2 separate regions of the Homo sapiens genome follow, and region 2 is linked to region 1. Evidence: promoter capture Hi-C in 16 types of primary human blood cells and fetal thymus (Javierre and others, 2016). All regions are on one chromosome and are shown on one strand. Each heading gives the region's core, a stretch centred on a gene start or on the middle of the fragment in contact. The rest is flanking DNA. Distances are from core to core; before and after follow the strand shown. Region 1 holds the start of RALGAPB (Ral GTPase activating protein non-catalytic subunit beta). Region 2 overlaps RPN2 (ribophorin II).

Region 1 (3,737 bases), core at 325-2,824:
TTGAGAGGCTGAGGTGGGAGGACTGCTTGAGCTCAGGAGGCGGAAGTTGCAGTGAGCCAAGATCATGCCACTGCATTCCAGCCTGGGCAACAGAGCAAGACTCTGTCTAAAAAAAAGAAAGAAAGAAAAGAAAAGGGTGTGTATATGCATATAGGAGAGAGCAGAAGTGTGTGCGTTTGGGTGGGATGGCCAGAACGTTCAGAGGATGGTCTAGGCAGACTTCCAGCATATGTAAAAACGACCCAGAGGTTACAGACGCTACACCTATAAGTACTGTATATTTAGGAAAATTGCAAACGAGCAGTTTGCATAAGATGCATACATTTTAAATGTTCCAGATGACTCAGAATCCCTGCAGAGAATTCCATCCCTAACAGTCTTTCACAAGGTGTAGTGGTCAGTCAACCTAAAGATCTCTGCGGGTGGAACCTGCAAGTTTAACAAGCTCCCAGACAATTCTCCTGCACACTTAAGCTGGAGAAAGAGAGATGCTTTTTGAGATGCAGAATTATCAAATTACATGCGGTTCCCAAACTTTGCTGCAAGCTGGAATCACTTGGGCATCTTTAAAAAAAAAATATTGAAGTCTGGCTTTCAACTCCAGACATTCTGATTGTTTTGGTCTGGGATGCCACATGGGCATCAGAAACCTTTACAATTTCCCCCAGGTGATTCTACAGTGTAGCAAAGTTGGAGAGCCACTGCCCTAATTGTTAAGCACTTGGGTCGGATGCTCCGGTTCAAATTACTAGCTATGTGACCTTGGGTAATTAAGTCACCCAACCACCCAGGGACTCAGTTGCCTCGTCAGTAAAATGGGGACAACAATCCTACCTCACAGGGTTGCTGTGAAGTTAGACGTGGAGAACGTAATGGCCTGGCATGATGCCTGGCGGATAAGAAGCGCTTAATGGGGGTTAGCTGTTTACTCCCATCATCAACTCTCCCTCATCAAAGTGTCACTGTGCAATGGGCAGCATCGTCCCCACTGGGCGGCAGCAACTTGCCTAACCTTTCTGCTGGACCAAATTCTTTGCGGGAGTTGTCTAGCTCCGCTCCAGACCCGCCCCCTCCCCCAGGTTGCCAGGAGAGAGCTTCGCCTGGCCGGGGTAGCTCCCAAGGATTAGACCGGGTTTACACAGACTCGACAGCAGCCGCCCACTCCAGGGCCAAGCTTTCCCCGCCCCCGTGGGTCTCCCAAAAATTTGCAGATGAGCTTCCAAAGGCCGGGCCCCTGGAGCACCCAGAGCCGAGAAACAAGCCTCAGCCGTCCCTTGACCGCCAGGTGGGGAAGAGAGGGAAGGAGAGGGGAGGGTCCGGCCGCGGCGGGGCCGGCTGCCCGGTTACCTGAGGCGACGGGCGGGGCCCGCATCGCCGGGGCGGGCGCCGCCGCCGGCCGTCCTCGGCCTTCCGCCTCACGCGACCCGCGCCATAGGGCTGGCGCTTTCACCGCCCTGGCCGGCCGTCCTCAGGCGGTCCGTCAGTCCACCCGTCAGCGACTCTCCCAGGGCGCCAAGGGACGACGAAGGCCACTCGAGCCAGCCGGCTGGGATCTGCTCAGGCAACTTCCGACTGCCAGGGGCGGCGGCGTCAAATAACTCCCCAGCCAAGTGGGCCACTGCGCGTGCGCGGTGCGCCTAATCAGAGCTTTCTACGGGGCTGAACCGGTGGCGTCAAATAATTCCCGAGACACAGAGCCGGAAGCTGCGCCTGCGCAGCTATCCCAGATCGCCGCGCGGGACGCATTGCGTTCCTCCCATTCCGGATCAAGTGGAGAGGGAGGAGTGAAGTGACGGATGCACCTACCTCATCGCGGCACAGAGGAGGCGCTCTACCTGCGTCCTTAGGAATCTTACGGCATCCACTCTACCTGCTTTCGGTGCAGACGGATAAGGGGCTTCTCTGCAAGATTCTGGCTCCCACCTAGGTTCTAGGAATTTCTCCCATCCCACCATTACAGCACTCTTCCTCTGAAATGATGCCCTTTGCTCGCCGCCGTCTTATTACACGGGCACAGCATTAATTATGAACAGTGCTCTATTCCAGGCCCGGTGTGGGTTACAAAGGTGAATCGAACATAAGATTTAGAGCCTCTCATTAAAGAGCTGAATCTGATCGAGATAAGACAGTAGTAATAATACTAAGAGATACTACTTCGAGCACCTGCCATGCGCTAGACATTTTGTAAACAGTACCACTTTCAATAATTTGCTTTCACTTCAACGAAGAAAATAATACCATTGGAGAGGTACAGCTTAAGTGCTTTGAGAATCTAAAGGAGGAAACTTGGACTGAGAAAGAAGAGGAGGGAGGGATGGTGGAATTCTTCACGGAGGACCTGGCCTTGAGACTGACCTTGGGTATTGAGAGAGGGAGGAGGGGTCAGGGTGTTGAGTAGAGGTGAAGGCACGGTTGTCTGAAAAGCAGAAGGGAGCAAAGAAGATTCTGACTCCTCACCTCAGTTAGAAGAGACTATGGAGGAATGAGTGATAAGGGAACTAGTATCCTCACAGAAAGGGTAAAACTGAAGAGTGTTTCCTCAAGACCACACCTCACCCCCCAGAAAAATAGCTACAGGAAGGAAGAGGGAAAAGGAGGGTAAGAATGTGCTAGGACAGGAACGAGGCTATGTCCAGGACACTGGATCCAAGCAATACATTTCAATTAAACACAGTGTGACAAATTATGTAGTTGGCTAACTCAAGATCTATTTCAACCACTCCCTTGCCTTTCTATACTACAGGGGCTGAAAAGCAAAGCACACAACTCTCAACTTTCTTTGCTGCTAAGGGTGGCAGTGAGACAAAGTCCTGGCCACTGAGATGTAGGCAGAAGTATCAAAGGAGACCTTCCCTTCCTTCTTCCCTTGGAGAAGTTTGTGTCCTTCACTTTTCCCCTGCTTCATGCTTGGAACTGGGTAACACCTGGGAGCACAGCAGCCTAGAGGCCATGAGGAGGGCTGTGCTGAGGAAGGTGGAGCAGAAAGACAGGAGCCTGTTTGTTTAAGTCATACTCAAGCAGCTACACAAACCCTGTACTACCTTCCTGTCTTATCGGGATGAGGGATCTTATATATACCAGAGTTTGTTGAGTTTTATGTTACTTGCAACCAGATGCATTCTAACACAATTAATACTGAACCCCTGTAACAGACAAGGGAGGGGTGACTAACTGGAAGAACAACGGGTGATGGGAATTGGAAAAGTGACAGGCACAGAGGATGGGAAAGCTGTCCCAAAGCCCTTGGGGAGATGATGAAAATACAGCTATCACCCTTCTAGTGGTTTCAATTCATTCCTGAAATTCTGCTTCTAAGTGGAAAGCTGTTAAATTTTTCCCATTAATTAAAATGGGCAAAATTGTGTTCAATTCCAGCCTAAGGCACCTAAATATTTTTAACAGAAAAAATATATTGATGCAACAGAAAATTATACAAACAAATAATTTTGCTTAAAATATGGTTTTTACATAACATGTAAGGCAGTAAGACTTACTGCTCTGGACAGAAAGACAAGATTTAATATTAGGTGCAAGTTGGTGGAGGAGAGATGCAAGTGAGTGGTTCTCTAAATGATGGTTTGTTTTTTTAAGACACAGGGCCTCGCTATGTTGCCCAGGCTGGCTTCAAACTCCCAGGCCCAAGCGATCCACCTGCCTCAGCCTCCCAAGTAGCTGGAACTAAAGGCACACATCACTGTGCCTGGCATAAAAGATATGTTTTTTCTGCACTCTTTGCT
Region 2 (3,728 bases), core at 887-3,386, 1.3 Mb after region 1:
ACCTCGTCTCTACCAAAATACAAAAAATCAGCTGGGTGTGGTGGCGTGCACCTATAGGAGGCTGAGGCAGGGGAATCGCTTGAACCCAGCAGGCGGAGGTTGCAGTGGGCCAAGATCGCGCCACTGCACTCCAGCTTGGCAACAGAGTAAGCCTTCATCTCAAAAACAAAAACAAACAAACAAAAAGTATGACAATGATAGCAGAAATGATGAGAGTTTAAATGCAAATACAGTTATAGGGTTCTTTTACTATTTGTGACATGGCAAAATAATAATTCAAGATATACCGTGAGAAATTAAGGATGCATATTAAAATCTCTAAACAAAACTAGACAAACACTAAAAAAAAATTAGATCTGAACAGTCAATAGAAGATATAAAACAGAATATTTAAAAATAATCAAGGGGCTGGGCGCAGTGGCTCACGCGTGTAATCCCAGCATTTTGGGAGGCCGAGGAGGGCAAATCACTTGAGGTCAGGAGTTCAAGACCAGCCTGGCCAACATGGTGAAACCCCATCTCTACCAAAAAATACAAAAAATTAGCCAGGCATGGTGGTGCGCGTCTGTAATCCCAGCTACTTAGGAGGCTGAGATGGGAGGATCACTTGAACCCGGGAGGCAGAGGTCACAGTGAGCAGAGATCACACCACTGCACTCCAGCCTGGGTGACAAGAGTGAGACCCTGTCTCAAAAAAATAAAATAAAACAAAATAAAATATAAAAATAAGACAGGAAAAGAGAGGGAAAAACAGGTAAGCCAATAGGAAACAAATAACAAGATGACAGATGTAAACCCAACAATATAATTAAACATAAATGATTGATCTTTTTTTTTTTTTTTTTTTGAGACGGAGTCTCGCTCTGTCGCCCAGGCTGGAGTGCAGTGGCGGGATCTCGGCTCACTGCAAGCTCCGCCTCCCGGGTTCACGCCATTCTCCTGCCTCAGCCTCCCAAGTAGCTGGGACTACAGGCGCCCGCCACTACGCCCGGCTAATTTTTTGTATTTTTAGTAGAGACGGTGTTTCACCGTTTTAGCCGGGATGGTCTCGATCTCCTGACCTCGTGATCCGCCCGCCTCGGCCTCCCAAAGTGCTGGGATTACAGGCTTGAGCCACCGCGCCCCGCCAAATGATTGATCTTAAACATAAAAAAAGAATCAAAATAAAAAAATAAATGGAATAAACTCCCCAATCAAAAGGTAGAAATTATCAGACTGGATGAAAAAACAAATCCCTACTATATACTATTTATAAGCGATAGATTAGTCTGACAACACCTTAATTTACAACTTCATCATCACTAAAAGTGAAATAACCAGATATTATGTATCTATTAATAGGAAGTCCACAGCACCACCTGTGAAATATTTTCACCAAGAAAACCAACCCTGAATATAATTTAGCCTCAAGAGCTAACTATCAGTTTACAGGGATACAAAGGATAGGGAAATATGTTCAAAAACATCATGAAGATACAATTAATCAAAGGCAGAATGTGGAAAATATTCCAGGACAAATGACCTGACTTATTCCACAAATAAATGGTATGGGGAGAAAAGAGGGAATGGGAACTATTATCGGTGAAAAGAGTCTTAAGAGATACCAGCAAAAAATGGAATGTGTAGACCTTCTTTAGATCCTGATTTAAGCCAACTAACTGTAAAAAACACTTTTGAGATAACTCAAGATAACTGAACATAGACTGAGAATTAAATGACATTAAAGAATTACTGTTGGTCAGGCACAATGGCTCATGCCTGTAATCCCAACACTTTGAGAGGCCGTGGCAGGAGGATTGCTTGAGGTCAGTTCATGACACCAGCCTAGGCAACATAGCGAGACCTCATCTCTACAAAATAAATAAATAAATAGAATAAGAGATACAAGTACAACAATATGTCTGATATTTGCTTGAAGACACTCCATCCAGCAAGCCAGGTGCAGTAGTGTATGCCTAAAGTCCCTACAGATTTGGAGTCATTTCCATGCTAATACAAGAAATGGTAGGCAGAATTCTAAAGACATTCATACTCCTCCCCCTGGATTTCCATCCACTGATTATTCATTTAAACACAAATTTAGGAACTGTTATAAAGTGATTTTGCAGGTATAATTAAAGCCCCAAGTCAGCTGACCTTACAATTCAGAGATTATCCAGGTGGGCTGACCCAAACAGGTGAACCCTTTAATAGCAGTTTTCTCTGGCTGGTGGCTGAAGAGGAAGTCAGAGAGAATTGAAGAGTAAGGACTCACCATGCCATTACTGGTTTAAAGGTGGAGGGGCCATGTGAGAAGAAATACCAATGGCCTTGAGGAACAGAGAGCAACTCCTAGCAGACAGCTAGCAAGGAAATGGAGACCTCAGGCCCACAACCACAGGAACTGGATTTTGCTGACAATACGACAACATGAATGGGCCTGGAGGCAGATTCTTCTCCAGTGCTTCCGGGAGGAGCCCAGTTTGGCCAATGCCTTCACTTTGACCTCAGGAGACACTAAGCAGAGGGCCCAGGCAAGCCTGTCTAGACTTCTGACCTGCAGGATTATCAGCTAACAGCGGGGTGCGGTGGGATGCACCCATAGTCCCAGGTACTCAGGAAGCTGAGACAGGAGGATCACTTGAGCCCAGGAGTTCGAGGTTATAGTGTGCTATAATCATGCCTGTGAATAGCCACTGCACTCCAGCCTGGGCAACACAGTGAGACCCTCTCTTAAATAAAATAAAATAAAGAACTATAAGCCATATAAGCCAATAAGTCGGTGGTGTTTTAAGCCCCTACATTTATGGTAATTTGTTCTTCAGTCAAAGAAAACTAAGGCAGATATGAGAAACTTGGCAAAGGAAAATTGTTTAGTCTAGTTGTCCATACTACTATAATGAATAAAATGTAAATTCACTTTAAGACTGTTCCTGGTCAGGTGGTGGCTCACACCTGTAATCTCAACACTTTGGGAGGCTGAGGCAGGTGGATCACTTGAGCCCAGGAGTTTAAGACCAGCCTGGGCAACATGGCAAAACCCCATCTCTAACGAAAAAATACAAAAATTGCCAGGCATGGTGGTGCACACCTGTAGTCCCAGCTACTAGGGAAGCTGAGGTGGATGGCTTGAGCCCAGGAGACAGAGACTGCAGTGAGCCATGATCATGCCACTGCACTCTAGCCTGGGTGAGCCAGACTCTGTCTCAAAAAAAAAAAAAAAAAGACTGTCCCGAATCCAGGAAAGGTTTTAATCATAATGCATTTTCCTCACCAGAAGTCCAAAAACATGTATCAAAATTGCCTGATGTAGTGACTACCATTATTTAATACATGTGAGTGCCTTCCACCTTGAATTCCCTTATTATTAGCCACACACATAGGGGGGCACTTAGTAAGTACATGTGTTATTGGACAGTCTCACTCCCAGAGCTGAAGTAAAAGTTTCTAGATGATCTATGCTTGCTCTTCTTGACATCCCACTAAAAATAACTGATCTGGTATGATCCTTAACATACATTAGGCAAAAAAACAAAAACAAAAACAGATCTGTCAAACTGAAATAAACTTCTTTTTTTGAGACTGAGTCTCACACTGTTGCCTGGGCTGGAGTGCAATGGCGGGATCTCAGCTCACTGCAACCTCTGCCTCCTGGGTTCACACGATTCTCCTGCCTCAGCCTCCTGAGTAGCTGGGATTACAGGCATGCACCACCACACCCAGCTAATTTTTTCTATTTTTAGCAGAGT

What was found. Contacts are between HindIII fragments. The CHiCAGO score rates a contact against its expected background, and 5 or more counts as called.
Region 2: a fragment that was not itself captured here is called in contact with the fragment with the promoter of RALGAPB in region 1 in 1 of 17 cell types (erythroblasts); the score reaches 5.3 in erythroblasts.

The regions. Positions count from the first base shown.
Region 1 is chr20:38,470,680-38,474,416 of GRCh38, reverse strand. It overlaps RALGAPB (Ral GTPase activating protein non-catalytic subunit beta), which reads right to left and starts at 1,574. Exons shown (of 30, transcript NM_020336.4): 1 at 1,348-1,574. RefSeq lists a silencer at 1,294-1,493 and an enhancer at 1,784-1,853. The HindIII fragment of the contact is 2,916 bases long and covers 1,177-3,737 here.
Region 2 is chr20:37,184,621-37,188,348 of GRCh38, reverse strand. The region is part of intron 2 of RPN2 (ribophorin II); the gene reads right to left. Among named protein-coding and RNA genes, the nearest start is that of MROH8, 6.9 kb to the right of the region's middle. The HindIII fragment of the contact is 6,975 bases long and covers 1-3,728 here.